Linked DNA regions of Homo sapiens: all the other regions are linked to region 1. The links are contacts of gene promoters, found by promoter capture Hi-C in blood cells and fetal thymus (Javierre and others, 2016). All regions are on one chromosome and are shown on one strand. Each heading gives the region's core, a stretch centred on a gene start or on the middle of the fragment in contact. The rest is flanking DNA. Distances are from core to core; before and after follow the strand shown. Region 1 holds the start of RAPGEF4 (Rap guanine nucleotide exchange factor 4). Region 2 overlaps CYBRD1 (cytochrome b reductase 1). Region 3 overlaps DYNC1I2 (dynein cytoplasmic 1 intermediate chain 2).

The links. The method cuts DNA at HindIII sites, captures the fragments that hold promoters and counts their contacts. A CHiCAGO score of 5 or more calls a contact.
Region 2: a fragment that was not itself captured here is called in contact with the fragment with the promoter of RAPGEF4 in region 1 in 4 of 17 cell types (non-activated CD4 T cells, naive CD8 T cells, activated CD4 T cells and 1 more); the score reaches 6.7 in non-activated CD4 T cells.
Region 3: a fragment that was not itself captured here is called in contact with the fragment with the promoter of RAPGEF4 in region 1 in 4 of 17 cell types (naive CD4 T cells, activated CD4 T cells, non-activated CD4 T cells and 1 more); the score reaches 9.2 in naive CD4 T cells.

The regions. Positions count from the first base shown.
Region 1 is chr2:172,734,589-172,737,110 of GRCh38, forward strand. RAPGEF4 (Rap guanine nucleotide exchange factor 4) reads left to right here and starts at 1,257. Exons shown (of 31, transcript NM_007023.4): 1 at 1,257-1,460. The coding sequence starts at 1,396. RAPGEF4-AS1 (RAPGEF4 antisense RNA 1) reads right to left here and starts at 1,618. Exons shown (of 4, transcript NR_026995.1): 1 at 1,538-1,618; 2 at 707-873. The HindIII fragment of the contact is 2,798 bases long and covers 1-2,522 here.
Region 2 is chr2:171,554,648-171,557,169 of GRCh38, forward strand. CYBRD1 (cytochrome b reductase 1) reads left to right here. Exons shown (of 4, transcript NM_024843.4): 4 at 1-2,522. The coding sequence ends at 180. Among named protein-coding and RNA genes, the nearest start is that of CYBRD1, 33 kb to the left of the region's middle. The HindIII fragment of the contact is 3,012 bases long and covers 1-2,522 here.
Region 3 is chr2:171,707,083-171,709,604 of GRCh38, forward strand. It overlaps DYNC1I2 (dynein cytoplasmic 1 intermediate chain 2), which reads left to right. Exons shown (of 18, transcript NM_001378.3): 5 at 205-295. Among named protein-coding and RNA genes, the nearest start is that of DYNC1I2, 21 kb to the left of the region's middle. The HindIII fragment of the contact is 165 bases long and covers 1,182-1,346 here.

The DNA of each region.
Region 1 (2,522 bases), core at 7-2,506:
CTGTGGCAGGTCTGAAACTAGATCCTGGCTATCCAGCAGAGGGAAATGGCACATATTTGGAGGCTTTTATATCATGGTAATAATTGTTTTATTAGGATCAAAGCATCCCAGAAAGCACTTGCTCTTTCCTTCTCTCCAGTCCCCCTGACTCTCCCCTGAGCAGGGTTGGATAGGAGGTTTGGTGGGGGGAGGAGGCAGGGAACAGTAGAAGAAAGCAATGCTATGTCCCTTTCCCCCATTGTCTGGCCCCAAATGTAGTGCCATAAATATCAAAACAGTGCTTGGTAATAGTCCAAAACATTTAACTTGTCCGCAAATTCCTAAACAACCATTGGCGTGTAATTTGGTTCTTGGCAGAGTGTAACTGAATAACTTGTAGACATGACATTTGTGTGAACATCTACAAGAGACAGGCCGTTATCACCACCCATTCAACACTCCAGCCAGAGGAAGAACAGCAAGGGGGCCAGCCATACAAGTTCACCTGCGCGTCCGGGGTCTCGGTTCTGCTGTGGCCCGGCTACTCCCCATTCTCAACTGTGTTTTCTTCACCATGCAGGTGATGGAAGCCCAGGCAGGCCCAGGGTTCAAGGCCAGTGACTTCAGCCTGTCACCCCCTCAGACCACATCGGGCCCACCGGCCTCCTCCCTCCCTGCCCCTCAGCCCTGCCCGCACTGCCCCCCATTGCGCCCAGCCCTTCCTCACCCCGCAGGAGAAGCTGGCCTCTCATTCCTCACTGAGAGACTCGACGGGCGTCCCCACGCCAAGCCTTCCTCGCCCTCCCCTCCAGCCTTTTCTGAAGGGGAGACAGCAAAGGTGAGCAAGCAACCGCCGGCAAGTTTCGACAGCTGCTGAGGAAGACTCATGGGTTTCTAAGGAAACAGAGAGGCAGCAGCCATTTTAGTAGCATTTGCTGTATGAAAAATATATAGACACTGGCAGCCCTCTCCCCACTCTGCCTTGGCGCCTGCCCTCCCGCCCCGCCTCAGAGGCCCCGGGGTGAGGGTGGGGCCCCAGTCTCCGAGGGACGCAGCGGACACCTGTCGCAGGTGGCCGGCCACCGGGGTCGCCACCCCCAGTGTCCCCCAGCAGCGGGACCGCGGGGTCCCCACCCCGGGGCGGAATCCCCACCCACGGGCGCCGCAGTGCAGCGGCGGGCGGGCGGGCGACTCGGCCCTCCCCGCACCCGCGTCCCGCCCCCCGGGTCCCCTCCCTCTCCCCACCGCCCCAGGCCGCGGGAGCCCGCGGGGAGGGCGGGCCTGTCGCAGCCGCGCTGGTCGCCAGGCGTCCGGGAGGAGCGGGGTCCGCGCGGCGGACGAGGCGGGGGCGGAGGCGCAGGCAGAGCGAGCGCGGGAGGTCGCCGCAGCCAGGGACACCGCGCGCCGCCGCTCAACATGGTCGCTGCGCACGCTGCCCATTCTTCCTCCTCTGCCGAGTGGATCGCCTGCCTGGATAAAAGGTAGCTCGCCGGGGGCCGCAGCCGGGGGCCGAGCTCTGCGGTGCTGCCCGGGCCCTGAGACCGCCGCAGCTCCGCACCTGGGCGCAGCGCGGCCGGGCTGCGGGTGGCCGGGGTCCCCGAGCGGGGGAAGGGGTTGAGGTCCTCGTCCGGGAGACAGGAGGACAAGGATCCCCGCCTCTCGTGGGGTGCCAGCGGCATGAGATTATTACACGTGGTGGAGAAAATGCAGCGCAGTAAGGGGAGAGAGCACCCACCTCTCCAACCCCCTGCCCTGCCGCGACTCCAGGCTCCGCTCCTGGGTGGGGGTTTATTTTCTCTTGGCATCACGGGACAGAAGAATCGATGCATACCCTTTCCGGCTATTCAGACCTTGCGGGGTATGAAGTTTTAAAGAGGGGTGGGGGCACCGGCAGGTGCAGAGTAACATTCTTTTTTTGTTCTTGAAAGCAAAGTGTGAGGGACCCGGTGGAGCTGTCGAATCCCTTGCTGAAATTCACAGCTCTCTGCCCCCGCAGTCGCTCGCTCAAGGTCTGTGTTAGAGAAGGTCATTTGGGAGGCTGCTTTCGTCTTAATACCTGCTTCTCGGGAAAAGATCTTTACGCTAAAAATAATTAAAACCATAAAGCATGTAACTCCCGACGACAGCTCTCTCTAAGGAGGATGTGTGTGTTAACAGTGGATTGCAGTTGTTTCCAGGCTGTGACAGCATAATTTTCTGTTTGTCCAGATTGCAGGTTTAAACGTTACACAGTATGTTAGCAATTATAGCTTATTACCCTGATTAAAAGGTGATGCATCTGAACTTTTAAGAACTGAGCAAGAAATCTTGCAGAGTGAACTGCCTCTGAATTTCGGAGTTTGATGCAGAAGGGCAATGATGCACGTCTTGCAGCTATCTGCATGACATCTCTATTTGCATTTGTGTGAAATATTTTGTGCTCTGCCATATTGAAAAATTTTCAATTAACAGATTCGTAACCAGATCAAACTTGAAAATCTTAAGTGTGACGTGCTTTGCATACTCTATTATAGGCCTTTGTTGAAAAATATTAAGTAATTTGA
Region 2 (2,522 bases), core at 14-2,513, 1.2 Mb before region 1:
AAGGAGCCAAATTCTACCATTCTTCATCCAAATGGAGGCACTGAACAGGGAGCAAGAGGTTCCATGCCAGCCTACTCTGGCAACAACATGGACAAATCAGATTCAGAGTTAAACAGTGAAGTAGCAGCAAGGAAAAGAAACTTAGCTCTGGATGAGGCTGGGCAGAGATCTACCATGTAAAATGTTGTAGAGATAGAGCCATATAACGTCACGTTTCAAAACTAGCTCTACAGTTTTGCTTCTCCTATTAGCCATATGATAATTGGGCTATGTAGTATCAATATTTACTTTAATCACAAAGGATGGTTTCTTGAAATAATTTGTATTGATTGAGGCCTATGAACTGACCTGAATTGGAAAGGATGTGATTAATATAAATAATAGCAGATATAAATTGTGGTTATGTTACCTTTATCTTGTTGAGGACCACAACATTAGCACGGTGCCTTGTGCAGAATAGATACTCAATATGTGAATATGTGTCTACTAGTAGTTAATTGGATAAACTGGCAGCATCCCTGGCCTGTTGTCATGCAGTCATTTCCTGTTAATTCTGGGAGACAATGATTTCACAACTAGCGGGAAGCAGTCCTAAAAGTTTAAAATCCGATAAGGAATATCTGGGACAGGGTTTAGATCATGACTCTACACAGATACCATGATGAGAGTATATTAAAGAAATTTAGGAAAGCACCTGGTTCCTTTCTCCCCATGCCTGCCTTCTGCTCCCTCCCCAGCTGGTTTGGGCTCAAATTGTCCCTGGAGACTAGGGTTTATGTTAGGGTATTGATAGATTAGAGCAGGTGGTTGAAGAGATCTTCTCTGGTCAGACTTGGAAGAATTTCCAAAACTGAAGTTAGCCCCAAGACTTCCCTAGGGTTGATGTACTTTATGATCCAGATGCTAAACTTCTTAGAATGAAAATATGCTTCAACACTTAAGTAGCATACACTGCCCTACAAACCTCAGAGAGCACTTTTCCCCAAGTTCTTGTTTTTATTTTTGAAAGTACTCACACAGCACTTACTATGCTCCAAACACTCCTCTAAGCACTTTACACATATTAGCTCATTCAGTCCCCAGACAGACGGGATGAAGTAGGTATTGTTACTGTTCCCATTTTACAGGTGAGAGATTTGAAGCCTGGGGAGGCTAGTAACTCACCCCAAGGTCACACGGCTCATACATGGTGGGACTGAGACTCAGATGCAGGCAGTCTGGCACCTCAGTCTGGATTCTAACCATTTCACTAAGCTATTTTTGTCTTGTACTACTTTGACCCACCCCTGAATAAACCTCAATTGCTGGAGTGGGGTGTAGTTATTAAAGGGATGCTTTTTACCTTTTGCTGTTTGCTGTGGCAGATTCCCCAGATAACCAAGGAAAAGGGGCCACCCATACCTGGAAATAGGCCATAGGGCCCCTACTACTGCCAACAAGCCATGGCCTACCTTGACACTTGTTTGATCTTAAAATTGTGTCTTGGTAACAAAAGATTTGGACAGGCATATCTGTAGCTTTCAAGTTAATTAATTGCAATATTTTTTTCTTCAGGATTTTAGCTGCTGAACAACTTTCAGTTTGGAGCTAAAAGAGACCTGTCTCATGGTCTGCCCTTCCCTGGGGCAATAGCTAGGGTCTTTCCTGATTTTTATGGAATTTTAGGGGATATTTTGAGCTTTGGGTTCTCAGTAGTGAATTGAGACTTGGAGGTGACTTTTCATGTTTGGAGTATCATCTCTGTCTGGGATCTGGGCTGACAAATTAAAACCTAGAGTAGTGCTTATGCTGAAATGATACTTTTCATTTTTTGGTTGATTTTTTTGCCTTCCCTTCAATTTTAAACTGAAGCATTTTAATATGGGTAGAAACTCTACACCAAATACACTAAACATTTTGGTGCTTAGTGGATTTCTTTTTAGGTAACTGGTACTTACTTCCAAAGACTGAATACAAGCCACACTCCATCATATCCCTTAAACTTCATGAAAAACCATTCAAGATCCCCTTGCTGCAACACTGTTCTCTTCTTCTCTACTAAATTCTATTTCCAAAATTGGTAATAGAGCCAGAAGGATCCCCAGTACCCAGCCCTCTGCCTGGCACAAAGTGGTAGCACAATTAAATTCAGTATGGGTGGAGCATGGTACAGTCTTGGTGCCATAGAAGGAGTAGTTGCATAGTCACACATCATTTGATAAGTTGGATGTTCCATTACATAGAGGAACACAAAATTCCAGGGTTTTTGGAGGAAGGGATTAGATAGTGACTAAGCCGCCAGAATTGAGGTGGCCATTCCTTTTTGTATAGGCTAAGAAACAGGTTATCAGTGAAAAGTTAATTATGGCTTTGGCACTAGAATAGCACTGTTGCAAAGTATTTAAGCACCCCCCATCTCAGCCCTTTATTTTATCTTTCATGTGGGCTAATGTGAGGATAATCTTACAGATATTATAGGAATTTCTTTTCTATCTTTATGAAAACAACGTATATAAAATATATCTAGAAAACCTTTGTTTGAG
Region 3 (2,522 bases), core at 14-2,513, 1.0 Mb before region 1:
ATGAATCTTCAGCATGCATTGTTAACTTTTTGTCTTTTCCCCTTTCTTTCTGCTGTTCATTTTCATTCATATATTTTTGATTTTTGGTTTGCCATTGTTTTTTTCTTTTTTGTTAATTACTTCATTAAATTATTTTTGAAACGTCATAAGCTGAGCAACCTCTCCGTGTAGTAACAGCGGATACCTGTCTATTTCACTATTTAGTCCCTCCTCCTATGTCTCCATCCTCCAAATCTGTGAGCACTCCAAGTGAAGCTGGAAGCCAAGACTCTGGAGATGGCGCCGTGGGATCTAGGTACAGTAATTTTCCTTTTAATGTTTTAATGATAGAATGCATTCAGTGCCCAAATACTGTTGATACTTTAAAGGGACTCTAAATAGTTGTGTCGAGTTAGTCCTAACATTTTAAAATCTAAAATGGCATAGAAATTCTCTGTTGGACACTGGGAGAAAAAAAAGGTTTCTTTGTTTTTTTTTAATAATATTTTAACTGTCACATTTAATTAACTTAGTACTAAATAGTCAACCGGTTTTATGCTAATTATTTTATATTAAAAATAGAGATATTAATGCTTTTAGATTTTTCTGTTTAAACTTTTTGTTGGTTATTACGTGAATGTTTTGGGTGTAAATAGTGTAAAACCTCTCTCTTGTGCTTGATTCCCCATTCAGTAATTGAAAATGTAAACAATTCTGTTAAACAGTTCAATTCTGTTCTATTAAGTCATTAGTTCTGCTAATTAAGATAGAGAATAATAATGCATAAAATGTCAAGAGTAAGGAATAACTGCTAAGGACAACATTGAGAATGTTTACTGTCAAGCATTCCTGAACTTGCATCTTCCTTGTAAAATTACATTTCGTGTTTGTTTTAGGATCCTGCATACATGTTGGGACTTGCTTTTCAAAAGTTCAGTAAGATTTCAGCTTTCTTTCAAAGATCATATTGGGAAAAGTATTACTACTTATTCCTCTTTGTCTCTCTCACACACACACACACACACACACACAAAATAGTGAGTATTAAATGTACTTTTTGACTTCTGAAATGAAATTAAACATAGGTAGTCAAAATCCACAGCTGATTAAGAATGCTTATTTTGGGCCAGGAAGTTGCATGTCCTCACCAAGAAAATCTCTTAACACACCTTTTAATAAGACATAAGCTGTTAGAAGTTTTAAGCTTTTTATGCCTGAGTCCCTCTAGTTGAAGTTACAAACCAGTAATAAATATCTAAAAGACAGGGCAAGAAAAAAAAAGCAAGGTGGCTGGATGATCTGTAAACTCAATACTTCAATCAGCTCTTGAATAATCAGGTTATCATTAACAATTAAAAGGCACATAAAGCTTGCCAGCTTGAATTTGAGAAGTGCTTTCCAAATAGAACCAAAATCACAAATCTAAGCTATACTATCTTTGGAGGAAAATGACATAACTCTTTCATTTAAGGAAAATCAAAATTTTCTTTTTAGAAATAATGTTATTACCTTATAAAATAGTATGCATTACAGAATAAAGACAATTTGTCTAGTGTAAATTCATTTTTATAGGGTTAAAATTTTTTTTCATATTTTGTGCTTCTATATTTTTATACAAATATGTCATTATTCCTTTATTTTTTATTTTTTTTGCAGACAGGGTCTCTGTCACCCAGACTGGAGGGCAGTGGCGCAATCTTGGCTCACTGCAACCTCTGCCTCCTGGGCTCAAACGATCCTCCCACATCAGCCTCCCGAGTAGCTGGGACTGCAGGCACGCACCATCATGCCTGGCTAATTTTTGTATTTTTTATAGAGACAGGGTTTTGCCATATTGCCCAGGCTGGACTCGAATTCCCAGACTCAAGTGATCCACCCACCTTGGCCTCCGAACGTGCTGGGATTATAGGCATGAGCCACTGCACCCAGCCACTATTCCTTTAGACAATTAATAATCAACTGGCATTTTTAAGTGAAAGCGTTTTTTTTTCCCTTCTACAACATTACCATAGTAAAAATGTTTCCCAAGATTAAAAATTACTATATTTATTAAATGTCTTTATTTGATATTATACATTATTTTTATGTAGATACTATACTGTGTACATTATGACTCATCGTTCCTGATTTTGAATAGTAGATTATTTTAATTCAGTGTCAGCAAGTTTGCTTTCAAAAGTACTTTGACACTTAAGTTTTTTAAATTAATGTGAATTAAAACATGTCCCCATGAGTTTTATGGACAACCCAGAGATTATTAGAGACCTTTTAGAATATTGTAAATTAATACAGGGAGTAATAATGGTAAGAAAAATATTTATTCATGTATAGAACAAATATTAAGTTACCAACTTTATTAAAATACTATGGTTTACCACAGAAGATAAAACATTCATGGTCCTTGCTTTCATAGAATTTACATTGTAGTGATTACATCATTAATTTAAAGATACTGTTGACTTTATTGGAAAGCCCTAAGGGTAGTGTGCTATGTTTAGTGTGAAGCATAGTTTTTTTAATGATAAATTGTAAAACACAAAAAC